Regions from separate parts of the Homo sapiens genome. Here region 2 is linked to region 1. The links are contacts of gene promoters, found by promoter capture Hi-C in human tissues and cell types (Jung and others, 2019). All regions are on one chromosome and are shown on one strand. The core of a region is centred on a gene start or on the middle of the fragment in contact, and the rest is flanking DNA. Distances in the headings are between cores, read along the strand shown. Region 1 holds the start of FER1L6 (fer-1 like family member 6). Region 2 overlaps FER1L6-AS2 (FER1L6 antisense RNA 2).

Evidence for each region. The method cuts DNA at HindIII sites, captures the fragments that hold promoters and counts their contacts. A contact is called where the count stands out against the background at its distance.
Region 2: a contact is called between a fragment that was not itself captured here and the fragment with the promoter of FER1L6 in region 1, in 1 of the 25 tissues and cell types used here (dorsolateral prefrontal cortex).

The regions. Positions count from the first base shown.
Region 1 is chr8:123,846,964-123,854,895 of GRCh38, forward strand. FER1L6 (fer-1 like family member 6) reads left to right here and starts at 5,024. Exons shown (of 41, transcript NM_001039112.2): 1 at 5,024-5,222. RefSeq lists a silencer at 4,588-4,736. The HindIII fragment of the contact is 12,305 bases long and covers 1,293-7,932 here.
Region 2 is chr8:124,143,478-124,151,409 of GRCh38, forward strand. The region is part of intron 1 of FER1L6-AS2 (FER1L6 antisense RNA 2); the gene reads right to left. It also overlaps the pseudogene LOC392268. Among named protein-coding and RNA genes, the nearest start is that of FER1L6-AS2, 24 kb to the right of the region's middle. The HindIII fragment of the contact is 6,836 bases long and covers 989-7,824 here.

The DNA.
Region 1 (7,932 bases), core at 3,774-6,273:
TGGAGGCTGAGGCACAAGACTTGCTGGAACCTGGGAGGTGGAGGTTGCAGTGAGCCAAGATTGTGCTATTGCACTGCAGCCTGGGTGACAGAGTGAGACTCAGTCTCAAAAAAAAAAAAAAAAGAAAAAAGATTTTAGTGACTGTGCTAGAGTTTACCATTTACATTTTTAACTAAGCTAAATGTATTTTCAAATAAATTATACCCCACTTCAAGTATAATTCAAGTAGCTTATAATAGTGTATTCCCAATTCCTCCCTCTCATTTATTATGACTTTACTGTTATTTATTTTACTTATGTTTATGCCATAATCACCCAATAAATTACATCTATTACTTCTTTAAATAGTTATCTTTTTGATCAATTAGGAATATGAAAAATAATAGATTTTCTTTTATACATACTTTGAAAAAATTGCAAGCTTGAATATTGTTCTTCAAAACGGCTTGTATCAAGTGCAATATCTAAATTTATTCCAAAGCAGAGCTACCATTGTTGTCAAAAATCAAGAAGCTTTTCTTTTGATTGAGATCAGAAGTGAACAAAGAACAGAGATAACAGTCTATTACAAAACACCAGTTGTGCCTCATTCTTACTGCCCCACACCATCACACTTTTGCTTTGTGTTTTTGGAAAGAACCCTGCCATCCTTTTTCCTAAATTTAAATAATAATGAGGGCCACTGTTTTCAGAACATAAAATTTTACTTTCCATACGTTTCTTTCCTCTTTAATTACCTTAGTAGCTCCAGAAGTAGGCTAGCTAGATTTAGCAAATACAGATACAAGCTGTGCAGCTAAATTCGCATTTCAGGTAAATAACAATAAATAACTTTTTTTTTTTTTTTGAGATGGAGTCTTGCTCTGAAGTGCAGTGGCATGATCTCGGCTCACTGCAACCTCGGCCTCCTGGGTTCAAGTGACTCTCCTGCCTCAGTCTCCCAAGTGCTGTGATTACAGGCACACACCACCACGCCCAGCTAATTTTTTTGTGTTTTTAGCAGAGATGGGGTTTCGCCACGTTGGCCAGGCTGGTCTCAAACTCCTGACCTCAGGTGATCCGCCTGCCTCGGCTTCCCAAAGTGCTAGGATTACAGGTGTGAGCCACTGCATCTGGCCTAAATAACACATTTTTTAATACAAGTATGTTCTACGTCTCTGAAACTGATCTGAAACTCAAAGGTAATTGAATGTCTTGTATTTTACCAGGCAACTTGTCTAGAAGACCCTCATGTTAGTCTACCCAGTAGACTTCTTCCTTGCTGGGAGTAAAACAACCTGATTTTGTTTGGGAATCTACCCCTCCCTATGTGGATTTATTTCAGAAGTAATTCTTATTAGTCTAAATGAACCAGAGTTGTCCCATTCTCCTTGTCCATGATGGGTTTGGACATGAGTATGTGACTCAGTTCTTGACAATGGGATTTGAGAACCAAACTACTGACGTTGAGCTTCTGGGAAATGCTTTTCTTTGTTGATTAAAAGAGACATGTGAGAAGTTGGCCTCTCTCATTTCTTTGGATATTGTCCTGTCTGAACGTGATACCTGGAACTGTGGCAGCCATCTTGCAACCATGTGGGCAGGGAGGCTGCCGGAGGATGGCACAGCAGAGCACTGGGAATAACCTGGATCTCTGGTGATATCACAGACCCACTCAATTCAGCCTGAAGATACCTGAGCTTGGAACTTCTTACTTTGTGAGATAGTAACATTTCCTTATTTAAGCCATTTTCATTTGAGTTTTCAATTACAGGTAACCAAAAGCATCCTAAATGATAAAGTATTTATTAGACCAGAAAACTGAAGCTCAAATAGGTAAGTTATTCTGTGTTAGTAAAAAAGGAATTACTGGGGTTGAATTTAAACTCAGGCCTGTCCGACTTCAGTGTTCTCTCCATTATACTAATTCAAGCATTTCCATATAGTGTGGCTTTGGGCAAATTACATCACTTCTCTGAACTTAGACTTCCTTAGCTGCAAAGAGGGGCCGGAACTATTCCCTCACCATAATGTATTAAAGATGTAAAGATATACTGTTATTAGAAAGCACAGCATAAAAATGCCTAGTAAGCTTCCTTTAGCATAAAAATGCTTAGTAAAATTTCCTTCTTTCTTGCCTCTGTGCTTTTATTCTTAGGAATCTTCACTTACTCCTTATTGTGGGAGGTAGTGAATAGTTCTCTCATTTTAAAACAGGCTAGCATATTTTAAGAATTCATCTTATAAGAGCTAAGTTTCCAGTTTCTTGGAGCAACTTAGACCCTTGATTGCCTCAGTATTCATCCAAGAACACAGCCTATCAATTCAATGAGTTCTTTAGACTATGGGGATCACCCACAATTATATCTACATGCTGGAGCTTTTCCTTTAATCTTTTTAGGGTTCCTCAGTTCAGCCCAAATTACCCATCTCTAGTTTTCATGCCGTGAATGACAATCACAGCAGTGGAACAGCCCCTACCAGCAGCCTAGGCATAACAGTTCCCAGAGCCATGCTTTTTAATCATGGAGGGAGGAACATCAGTTTTGAGGATACTGGCTGAGTGACCTTGAACAGGTTGCCTAAGCATTCTGAGCTTCACTTTTCTCATCAGGAAAAAATGGGGATAATAAGAAGTCCCTCGGAGATTGATGCAAGGATTGAATAAGGTAAAGTGAGAGCATCCAGTGCATAGAAAGTAAACAGAATAGCATCACCTTCAGTAAGTCCTGCCACTTATGCACAGCTCAGCATCCTGTTATTATCACCTCTGCAGGTGCAATGTCATCTACCAAAATGTTCCTTTTTATAAAAAAATCCATGAAGAAGGGTTTCAGCCTTTCAGTCAGATGTCATTTGTCTCTAAAGACTGAGCTGTAATCAAATTTCCAGACCTGTTGTGTCCTGTAGGGAACATGAATTGGTCACAGCTCAATCAGATTCTCCATTCTTGCTGCCACCTCTCCAGCATCTGTGAATATGAATGAGAAGAATGGTGGGACACTAAGAGGCCCATGTGTGGGATTTGAGTAACTTGAAATCTGAGAAGTTAATTATATTCCATCTGATACAGCCCTCTAAATTAACTTGTACCTGCTGAGATCTCTCAATCCATTTCAAACACCAAGAAAAAGGATGAAATAAACTGAAATTTATTCTGAGATAAAATGTGTTTTTAATGAGAAGTTACAGAGAGAATAGTCTAAAAGGATCCTGGCTAGTTAGTGAGTCTATGTTCCCCTTCCCCGCAAAATCATTGCTCCAGCTGGGCTATATTTATGAAATAGCCCCTCAACCCTTCCCTTTCTCAGATGTCCTCACGAAATTGGAAGAATCATATACAATGTGTGTGTGTGTGTGTGTGTGTGTGTGTGTGTATGTATGTGCTTACACATGTCTGAAATGAACATTTCCAGTAGCCTCAGGAAACTCTTGTGCTTCTTCCTAATTAATGTCCCTCCTCAGAGGTAACCATTCTTCGTTTTTTTATTTTTTCTGAGACGGAGTCTTGCTCTGTTGCCCAGGCTGGAGAGCAGTGGCATGATCTCGGCTCACTGCAACCTCTGCCTCCCAGGTTCAAGCAGCTCTCTGCCTCTGTCTCCTGAGCAGCTGGGATTACAGGTGCCTGCCATCATGGCTGGCTAATTTTTGTATTTTTAGTAGAGATGGGGTTTCACCATCTTGGCCAGGCTGGTCTTGAACTCCTGACCTCATGATCTAACTCAGCCTCCCAAAGTGCTGGTATTACAGGTGTGAGCCACCGTGCCCAGCCGAGGCAACCATTATTTTGACTTTTATCACCTTTTGTGTATCTTTGAGTTTCATATATGTGGAATGATACAATTTGTACTCTTGTGTCTGGTTCCTTCCCTCATCAGTTTGTGAGACTAGTTCATGTTGTTGCTCATGGTCATAGTTTTTTTTTGTTTCTGTGTGATATTCCATTGTGAAAATATACTGAAATTTAGTTATCCTTTTTATGGCTGTTGGATATTTAGGTTGTTTTCAACTTTTGCGTATTATGAATATAGCCGCTATGAACATACTTGTGTTCTCAACTGGCCCTGGAATTCTTCTGTTTGCTAAAGTACCCCCAGGAAGTGTGTGCTAGAAGAAAAGGTTTGGGGAACTTGTGTTTTTGCATAACAATTCTTAATAAGAAAGTGCAAGAAATGTCGATCATTTCCCCGGGGGAGCAGGAGGGGAGAGGGAATGGTGATGGCTGTAGGTCTACTGGGCGCTGGAACCTCCACCAAATCTCCAGGGAATTTCTAGAGTCACGAAATGTTCTGTGTGAGGCAATGTACATATATGTACACAAATATGTTCACCACAAAATAAACTCATGACAATAACAGTCCTCATTTCTGTAACTGGGCACATGGTTGTACCTGATACTTAGAACTACCTTCTGCTACCCATTCTGAATTCCCTTTGTACTTGGCAAACCTTTCAGCTGGTTGAGGTTCTTTACCTGGTAGGATGACCCAAACCTTCATTCCTGAAGGGTCTGGGCCATTAGTAGTCCTGCGTGAATTGGATTATTGTAGTTTTCCATGAATTTAATCACAAATTTTAATCACAGGGTATGGTAATACTAAGAGATGCCCTAAGGGATCTCCTGTATTCCAGACATATTCTTTCTTGCCTCCATTGTGGAATAGTAGCACATTTTCCCCTTGGTAGTCAGGATCAGTCGCCCTAGACAACACCAAAACTTTGCCTGTCAATTCAGAGGTATGAGGAGCCCAAAGTGGCTGGCTGTGGCCTTAACTTTCAGTGCAATGGAATCACTGTTGTATCTGCTAGTGGAAGCATTCTTTTTTGGAACTAAGATCTCTAGGCTAACAGGATAATAAAGGAACAAGAGGCAAAAATTTTGCTAGTGAGTCATTAGGGGTAATAGCAAGTGGTGCCATCCCATTTTTACCCCTTGATCTCTGGACCCATGAGTCCTGACTAGCACCTGACTGGATGCTGATTCAAAGAATACACAGCTTTCTGTGGAATCTTGCCCCACTTCTGTAAAGTACTGTCACCTAGTTGGTGAGGTTGCCTGTAACTGACTTCAAAAGGCCATTCCACCATTCCGTCAAGCCAGCTGCTTTAGAACGGTTGGGAACACCGTGAGACCAGTGAATTCCACGAGCACGAACCCACTGCTGCGCTTCATTTGCTGTGAAGTGAGTCCCTTGATCAGAGCAATGCTGTGTGGACCATCGTGAAGGTGGACAAGGCATTTTGTAAGTCCATAGATAATAGATTCTACAGAAGCATTGTGTGCAGGGAAGGCAAGTTCATATCCAGAGCAAATGTGTATTCCAGTAAGGACAAAATGCTTCCCCTCCCTTCCACAATGGAAGCAGTCCAATGTAATCAACCTGCCTCCAGGTAGCTGGCTGGTCACCCCAGGGAATGGTGCCATATATTGGGGACTCAGCATTGGTCTCTGCTGTTGGCAGATTGGGTACTCAGTGGTCGCTGTAGCCAGGTTGACCTTGTTGCTTGAACTCCATGTTGTGAGCATGCGTGTGTGTGTGTGTGTGTGTGTGTGTGTGTGTGTGTGTGTGTTTGACAGAGACAGAGGGAGGAGAAAGAAGAGAGACTGGTAAAATTTTGGGGGATTATAGAGACAAAAAGCATGAGGAAGTTGCCTCAGGAACTCATAGAAAATGTGGGGCCTCTCACAAGATTGTTAGACTTTTAAAACATAAATTTTTATTTTACAGAAAAGTTGCAAAGATAATTGAGTTCTCTTAAATTTCTCACTCAGTTTTCCCTAATGGTAACATCTTATATTACCATGGTACATTTATGAAAATGAAGAAACTGAAAATGCAGCATTACTATTAACTAAGCTCCACGCTTTATTTGGATTTCACAAGTTTTTCCACGAATGTCTTTTTCTGTTCTAGGAGCCAGTCCAGAATCCCACATTGTAATTTTTGGAGATGGATTTTGAGGCAAATGTAATCATCCCTAAGGTTATATATCATATATCATATATGAAATATGTATTAGATATAGATGTATTCTATGTGTCTATTTAGCTACCTATCAGATCAATTTTATTCTTATTTTTGTAGAGACGGGGCCTCGCTATGTTGCTCAGGTTGGTCTCAAACTCCTGGGCTCAAGCGATCCTCCTGCCTCAGCCTTCCAAAGTGCTCGGATTACGTGCGTGAGCCACTGTGCCCACCCTCAGACTTTAAAATAGACGAAATCTTTTTTTGAGACAGTCTCACTCTATAGCCCAGGCTGGAGTGCAGTGGTACAATCTTGGCTCACTGCAGCCGCCACCTCCCAGGTTCAAGTGAGTCTCGTGCCTCAGGCTCCAGAATAGCTGGGATTACAGGTGCTTGCCATCACACCCGGCTAATTTCTGTATTTTTAGAGAAGACGGGGTTTCACCATGACGGCCAGGATGGTCTCAAACTTCTGACCTCAAACGATCCACCCACCTCAGCCTCCCAAAGTGCTGGGATTATAGGCGTGAGCCACCGTACCCGGCCTAAAATAGAAGAAATCATTTTTATTCAACAGTTCTTAGAAAGGTCTTAATGAGGAAATGATACAGATGATGATTTGGACCCAAGGCTGTTGAAAAATTGTTACTTTTTTCCTGGGGTATTGTATTAATCAGGGGAGATTTTACAAGGGTGGATGAGTAGAGAAAAAGGGGTAGGTACGCCTCACCACGGGCAAGCGTGGAGTAACATATTTTGAGAGAACCTATCCAAGTTGCACGTATGCAGGTGACATGCTCATGGCTATGATGAAGACCTGGAGGAGGAAAAGGCCAGAAAGCTGCAGACAACCCAACAGTGTCAAGCACAGAGGCTGGTTTTCACTGAGAACGATGTAAGAAGGAACAACATCGCGGCCTTGATGAAGCCACAGTGATGCTACCCAGGGACTCTGCAGAGCTGCCAGTCTCCTGCAACTCCACAGAGCCTGGACAGGGCAGCAGAAGGTGCACCTCTGAGGAGCAAAGGATGCAGGGCTTCTGTGGGCCTGGCTCTCAGGGAAGCATCAGGGACCGTGATTAGAAAGTTTACGTCTGAGTGCTGGCCCTTCAGTAAAGGCCTGTGTGACTTCTGGCAGGCTCCTGTCAGTCCTGAGTCTCTTCATCTATAAAATGAAAAGACGTCTGGTGAGATGGTTTCTCAGGACAGTTACGGCTCCAACATGATGCCACGGCAATTATAACATAAACAATGCCTTATGTTTGTAAATGATCTAGGCTTTTCTGAGCTGTTTCGAGGAAGTTATTGCATTTTATCCTTATGACAACACTGAGAGGATGAGAAAAAAATATTACCTGCATTTTATTACTCCTTTCCCCAGTAGGGTGTTGATACCCTCTAGATCATTCCAAGCTCTGGGGAAATCCAAGGCTCCTCCCACAGTGCACACCCAGATGTCTGCGTGTTCTGGGAGATTATGTGGTTGCAGTCACAGTCACTTTCCTTCTGGGCTGTCACAGCTTCATCTCGGATCTCTGCTGTGTAGCATGTCAACTCAAATGTGAAACTTAGATTCATTGCCACAAAAGAGTCCATCACACTGTGTTTCTGAGTGTGGTGGTCTATGATGGGGATTGGGACAGAGGGCCAATGGAGGAGGTGTTCCCATTTCAGGAATGTGAATAGAACAGGGGACCGAAGGGTATCTTCTGTCCCTTTATTACCAAGGGTGTCTTCACAGGCCCTTCTCATTTTGTCTAAGCCTTGGGGATGGGCTCTCAGCAGAACAAAGAAAGAAGCCCATTCTGGGAGGAGGAAGCAGCTTGAGCAGAGGTGACTGTGGGGACTGCCAGGCATGGTGGGGGATAGCGGGAGACTGTGGGAGTGAAACTGGGAGTGAAAGCCAATCTCTCCAGGCTTCCTGGCACTGCGTTTATTCTTCTGCTATACACTTACCATAATCTGTCTCGTATCCTAGTTTGTTAAA
Region 2 (7,932 bases), core at 3,157-5,656, 300 kb after region 1:
ATTCTGCATAAGCATTCATATCCATTGAATTCTAATCTTCTGCTAAAGGTGATGTGAATTCTTAAGTGTGTACATATGCAGCCTCCAGGGTACCATACTGTTTCCAGCAGCCAACCCTTTTCTCCCGCCACAACTACGAAGACCTTAATTCACCATTAACCTATTATATGGTGATGTTTTTATTCTCTCAGGCAGTCTATGTATGTTAAACCAATCAAGGAACTTACTGTATTCAGTGGAAACAATAATCATCATCTATTGCTTGGTGTCATAAAGCACCACCAGTTAAAGAGCATTGGAAGAGGTGGTTGGATGGAGCCAGGCTTGGGCTGCCTATTAGTTTTAGCAAGGGGAATACTGCTCTTAACGATACAGCTCTGTCAATATTCTGATCCCACAATAAACTTTAAAAAAAGACACAGTAGTAACACCTATTATTTAATAGGCCACATACCCTGATGAGTGTATTAATGCATTACATAATTTAATCTTCCTAACCCTGTGAGAAAGGCATTTTCCTCAATTTAGATGAGAGGTTTAGTAGCTGTCCAAGGTTACTCTGCTAGTGACTCACTGGGTCAGAATTTGAAGCCTGAACAGCCAGGCTTCACAGCTGATGCTCTTTTGCCTGCATCAGCCTCCTGCCCATGGCTGTCCCTCCCATAGGCCTTTGGTGTGAGCATAGAGATTATGGCTGTGAAACTGCTTTCTGTGTTGCAGAGAGACAGAACAAATTCCAGTCATTGTGTGATCTAATATGCTGGCTCCATATCTAACCTCCCTTTGGGGCCCATCTCTTAAGCCACAAGAACCCCAGTGAAAGGAATCAGTAGAGAAACCCATTGCTCTGTCACTGAACAGCTTCCCCCTCTAGATCTGTGATGGTTGTCTTGGGAACCAAGCAAATTCCTTGCTCTCTGCTCTGAGTATGGGCCGGCTGGTACGGCTGCCAGAGATGGGCTTCTGCTGGTTTCTCAGGTGCTGTTGGCCTTGGTGGTTTAGAACGCTTGAAGATTGGGCAGGAATCAAGAGATGTGGGGTAGTTTAAAAAAATAAATAAATAAAAAATAAAACTCATAGAAATTTGGGTAGAGACCAAAACCAGTCAGGAAGACCATCCAACTCAACCTTGACTCTGAAGTTCCCAGGCAGAGAAGGAGACAGGATAGAACGTGGGAAAATCAGAAAGAGGAAGAAGAGACAAAGTGAAGATGGGAGTCAGAACGCAGTAAAACTCCTATTCAGAAAGTATCAGTGCCAGGCTCTTAGAGGAGGGTGGGGACCTTGGGCATAGGCAGAAGGAGCTGCCAAGACACTAAATTCACCCAGATGGGCAGGCTCGATTCGTCATTGCTGTTTGTACCACCCCCTGAGGGAAGGGACCTCAGGACGGTCAGTTTTGATGGGAAGCATGGTTAGGGCTTGAAGAGTTCCTCAAGGGCTGGTGCCGGGTGTCTAGATAAAGTGTGGGAAAAGGGAGGATGGTGGAGCTACAGAGGCAAAAGCGAGCAGAGGGAAGATAGTACACTAGCACACCTGCTCCATGACTGCCAAAGCTGGTTCCAGTGAGAGGCCTCATCTTTGTTTGACCTTGATTCAGCCTTCACTGAGCCAGAGCCACCAACTCAAGTCATACCCTGCCCTTAGGAAATCCACCAGCTTGTTGCAAGAATCACAAGCCATTACTACCCAAATTCACTGATTTTCTAATCAGTCTCCCCAGCAAATAAAAATTTCTCTCATATGTTTCAATTCACAATATACAAAGCATTCAGCTCATGTCTGATAATACTACAATGAGCTATATTACACTAGAACTCAACCTAGCATCCACATCAAAAACCCTTAGTTTTCTCATTGCTTTAAAGGGATCTGCGCATCAAGGCACTTGCATGTTGGAGATGGGACGACAAATACCCATTCCCCCTCGCCTCCAGGTTGTAATCAGCTGGCAACAGGCTTGATGAGCCAAACAGGGACCAGAGAATTTATTTTCTCAATATCAGCAAAGACCCTATCATTCTCAAGGTCATGGTTTTCTAGTCAACTGTCTCCCTCTCCTGCCCTGAATGGAAGGTAGATGGACCAGCATAGCAGGACTAACTTATTAACCAATCCACTGCTTTGCCTTTTTGCTTTAGGTGCTGCTGAGGCAGGCAGGGAATGGTGAGCTCAGGAGACTCACTGTGCCTGGGCACAGACCCAACAGGAAGCAAGAGCCCTGAGAAGAATGAGCAGTGACCTTAGCACATTAGCCTTGTTCAACAGAGCAACATGGCCGCCAAGTGCCAGCCTCCCACCAGCTCTCCAGGACCGAATCAGTCTTGCTTTCTGCTGATGCGGTGGGAGGAGGAGTTAGAGGTAAACTTGCCATCCCAGTTTGCCTAGAACTGAGGTGTTCCCAAGATGTAGAGTTTTTCATGCTAAAACCAGAAAGTCCCTAGCAAATCAGGATGCACTGTTCACCACCTTCCTTAAGCCTTGGCAATGTGTCCCTCCAAAGAGAGGACAGGGTATAAAGAGAAGAAAAGAAAGACTTCTCCCTAATGTGGCTTTAGTAGCCACCCTAGGCTGATGAGAACTGGGATAATTAGCGGATTGTGTATGGGTGTGGGGATGAAATTTTAGATGTAAATACAATACCACCTTAATATTACTGCTGTTCGCGTGGTAGAACTACAGGTGATTTTTACATTCTTTATGCTTTTCTGTTTTTTCCAAACTTTCTGCAATAAACATCTGTAGCATGGTAATCAGAAAAAAAAGATCTCAGCTGTTTTCAAACAATAGTAATAAAAAGAGAAGACCAGTCATTTAAATAATAAAACCCATTTTTAAAATGTGATCCTTTGATCACTTTCTCCTGTACCCCAGATGGGGGTGAGAGGCAAAGTTATATTTATTAACCAGTGCAGAACAACTAGTAAGGAAAATGAAAAACGGATTCCAAATTTACCCTGTGTAGCCTTTGGATACCCAGTGGTAGCATCGCAATTTTCCAGAAGTAACTATTTCACTACTCTCTCCTTCTTTATCATAATCAACAGTGACTATTTAATCTTGATTCACCCCAAACCCACACTACATTATCCTTTTCCTCTCCAGGTACTTTCATCGAATTGTAATTGTGATTTAATGTTATGCCCTTGATTTAAATAGCGTTACTTTTTGAGCAAGCATGGCTGAAAATACAATTTTCTCTATTGTATTCAGACCCCTTTCAAGGAATTAATGTTGGAGACTGAGATGACAAATTCTTTATTCCCCTTGCCTCCAGGTTGTTACCAGTTGGTAATGACACAAGGGGCCAAGCAGGGACCAGATAATTCATTCTCTCCATAGCAGCAAGGACCTTATCACTCTCATGGTGATGGTTTTCTAGTAAACTCTCTCCTTCCCCTGCCCTGAATGGAAGGTAGATGAATTTGCTCCATTACCTGCCTAAGTGAGGAGAAAATCTAAAGAGACAGACTCTTGGTCCAGATTCAGCACCTTCCTGAATGTATACTTTTAAACATTCCCAAGATTCAGCTTCTTTGTCCCAAAGGCGGAACTGGGTGACACTTTTTATCCAAGTTTCAGAGTGCCCCTGGGAGGCTCAGTCAAAAACAGTGAGCATAGAAGCGCTCTGCATGCTATAGGATGCTATACAAAGATTTTAAAGTATTTATCAAGGGACTGATCATTTTGCCTTAGGTGCCAGGAAACAGAAACCAAATCAACCAGAAAATAAGAACACTTATTCATTCGTCCCTGCATCCAAAACGCATTTCTTTGTCAGATGAGTAAGACAATCTAACCTCGGACTGAGCCCAAGGCACAGTACACAGTGATGCTGCAGGCTTCCAGACCATCTTCCACCCACTCCTCTTAGTTCCGGGCTCTGGGTCCCTATGAGACAACTCTGATCACCACTGTGTTTGAAAAGCAAAGCTTCAAACCACTTCTCCACTGCTAACTGATAGAAAGTCACATTTTTTCTTCACTTTTACCCAAAGGGAAAAATAAACACTTCAAAAATGACAAAAGTCCTTCAGGCAGAAAACTGGACTCAGAGCTAGAAAAGCCAGACAGTAAATACCTGAACTAGCTGGCAGGAAAGATCTCTAAAGAGTTTCTTCAGGGCATCTCCCAGAAAGAATGAAAATAAACCTTTTGAAAACCAAGCAAGTAGGTCTCACGCCCTTTATATACATTTATTGCAAACTTTCTTTCAACCTCTGGCTTGGTGCAAAGAAATCATTAAACACACAGACACACGCTCAGCCAGAGAAGCCTCCACTTCTAGAGTACTGAGGCTGAGGGAAGATGAGGATGACTCACTTCCCCACAGACCAAGTCTGTTTCCCAAGTAAGCGACATCCCATATAATGTAGGTGGCTGCTGGAAAGCCATCTGGATCCCCAAATAACGCCTCTTATCTCAGCCCCTCCTTGTCCCACTCCAACCTACCTTACGAATGTCTGAAACTCAACCCCCTTGTGATTTCACTCGTTTAGGTTAAGATATATCCCTGTTATGCCACCCACTCCAGGTGTTGGCAAAAGTGAGCAGAATTTGGCAAGCCAAGTTCCAGGCATTTGCAGGAGCAAAGGAGTTAGTAGTGAGTCATTGAGAATGGAAAAGTCCTCCCTTAGATGTCTGTGGAGAGCATGCTGCAGCCTAGTGGTTCTCAAACTTCAGCATGCCTCAGGATCTCCTAGAAGGCTTGTTAAAACACAGACTTGGCTAGATATGGAATTTCAGCTTCAAAGATACATATCTTCAGCACTTTGAGGCTGGTTCTTTATTGTCTCATGGCATCTGATGTGGCTCCTGAGAAGTTGATGGCACTGATTGTACCCCTTTGGAGGTAATCTGCTTTTCCTCTATGGTAGCTGTTAGGTTTCCCTTTCGGAGCTTATTCTGAAGCAGTGCTACATTGTGCCCAGGTTTGATTTTGTTTTGTTTTGTTTTGAATTCCATTTTGTAGATCTTTTTTTTTGTTCTGAGAGCTCAAGTCTTTCCTCAGTTCTGGGAATATCTCAGGCAGTAAATTTTCACATGTCATTTTCCAGCACCTTATTTTATCTTTTTTAACCCCTATGTTGTATCTTCTTGCTCTGTCCCCTCTACTTATCTTTACTTTCAACTTTTCTACCTCTTTATCTTTTAATAATTAACCTTAGAGTTTACAGATTTACTCTTCTATAATCTTCAGAATGTTGCACTTGTTAAAATAACAAATTAACTGCTTGTTCTTCCTTCATAATCACTGTCCTTGTTCAAAAATCAATGAATTTTATTCATTCTTTTATCTCATATAGACTATTAAATATATTCATTTAAGTGTCTGTCCCTAATATACACACTGCTGATGGTTTACTGTTTTCTTTCTCTGTTTCTAGCCTATAGAGATGCCCCTATATTATTTTAGAAGGCTGTTAAATATTTAGTAATATAGTTATTATTTCTATGTGCTTTTGAAATAATGCCATTTATCCCATGCTCAACCCATCATTTTGGGAGTATCATTATATACTCTCAATCCTTTTCAGTTCCCAGCAGCTGCCACCAGCATCCTCCAACCAACGTTATCTCCTAAAGCCCAGAGAACACTTTGCAAAATACATATGGCTGTCCCTTAGAGAGACCTCACAGTTCCCATCTCTGCTATCTCTCTGTATTCAGGAAGCATAGTGGGCAAATGGGTGGTCTAGATGCTTTTTTATTCTCTGAGTTCAATTTAATATAAAAAGAAGAGGAGGATAGAAAATAAAGCCATTTATTCAGGCTCCTGTCTGAGGTGAATAACAGTATCTATTTCTCACTTCTCACCCACACTGTAACATTTATCCCAGGAAAATCAAATCCATAGCTTACCAACTGATCTATGTTCCATGGGGCAGACTCAGTTTCATTCACAGCTGTATCCCTTGTAACTAACACGGCTCTAACCTATAGATCGAATGAACCACTTTAAGGAGGGAGCAAAATATGTTTTATTAAATCTATTTCTTGGTTGAGCAAACTGAAGGTCAGTGTCACAGCCAAATATTACAGGAACTAGGACTAGGACCCAGAATTTCTTGACCCAATTCAACACATCCCAGGAGAACCAATACAACTCCTGTTGACGATGTGTTGACTAACCATTCCTCAAAGGCATGAACTGCATCTTATTCATCTATGTGCCCATATGAACACTCAGAAGCTATTCAATAAGATGCTTGTTAGAGTATTATAATTAAATTACTAAGATTAATTTTCCATTGGTTTCTTCATATTTTTGCATTCATGGAACATACTGGAACCTAATGATGACATTAAGAACCCTCTCCCCAGAAAAATGCACATCTGTATGCACACATGACACACAACATTTTGCATCAATTTCAAAGGTCCTCCAAACTTCTAAAGCTGGGTAAGATCTTAAAATCTCCTTTCAAAGTCTTGAAATTCTGGGGCTTATAAGAGGCCTTAAAGATTACTGATTTCAATTTCCTTATTTTATACATGCAGAAACTGAGGGCTAGAGATAGGAAGTTACTGGTAGATTGATCCTAGAGTACATGCAAGGAAGGCCTGGGATATCTACTGTTTGGAAACCCTCAGAATTAACTGGGTAAAGAGACCCTCCACCTCCCTTGGACATGGACTTTGCTCAGAACTGCTCTCTCTACCCTTACCTTCCTGAGCTTCCCATTGGCAGAAGTGACCTATCCAAAGTCTGACAGCCAGAAGCCCTGAGACTAGGACCCAGGTCTTCTAGCTCCCAGCCCGTTGCCCTTTCCATGACAAACTTGATCTCCCAAAGTTTTTCGACATCTTCTCTCTCTCAGCCAGCTTCTCCCACCTCACCCTTCCTTCTGGGTTCTGCTTTCATTGGGTGCTTTCTTACATGACATTCCCCGCTTTTTTATTAAAAAGGAATCAAAATCTCAGTTCATCGAGTGAAAAACAGATCAGGATGCTTGAAACCAAATTTACTTGTATATTTCCAATGCAATGCTCCCTAAACCAAACTCTTTACAAATAAATAAATCAATCATGACGTGTCACTTGTTCCAATCCTGAGGAAACAACAACATAAATAAGACAAAGTGATGGGACTGGATAACAGGTGTCATTTAAAATCATGTCCTGAAAATGTCACTAGAGGGTTGGGTAAATCTCTGTTAAGCTAAAATAAGTTAAATGCAAATAAATAATATTTAGGGAGAAATATGGGCACAAAGCAAAATTAAGTTTTGCTATTGATAACACGCTGTGATTACATCAAACGAATTGACGCTTCCGGTTAATAAAAATTGTTACCTGCCTCAGAACTTTAATTACATAATCACTAATAATGCAGGTTAATTTCATAGAATTAAAAAAAAAACAACTACCAAAACAAAATTATTTTTGGAGTTAACCCCTGCAAGATCCCAAAAAACATACAAAAGACCAAATGTTTGTGAGTGTTTGGCCAGTGTTGGAACTCAGGTCTCAGGGCAGGGCAATGACTTATCCAAGTTACATAGCAGTTAAGTTATACAGGCTAGATTACCAGATGAGGCCATGACATCTATGAATTGTTTTTTCTGTAAATAATAACATATGATAATGATGAGTTTTGCTTCCAGCAATACTGACTAGGTTGTTTTGGACCAACCATCCTGCTGAAGATGATAAAAAAAAAAAAAAAAAAAAAAAAAACCTAAACAAAATATGAAGAATGCCCATGAAAGCATTAGAAAGTTACCAAGGCAAAGAGCTTACAGGACAAGATCCAGTAAAGCCAGGGAAGTGCAGCTCCTTTACTGCTCAATTTGGCTGCTGATTCCAAAAGCAAAAGCTGAGCTTCCGGGAAGCTGAGTAGAGTTTTGGGGATTCTCACAGGACTGGAGAGAAATAAAATAAGGCTCACGGCTCTCCAAAAAGGAGCAGCTTGGGAAAATATTCAAGACT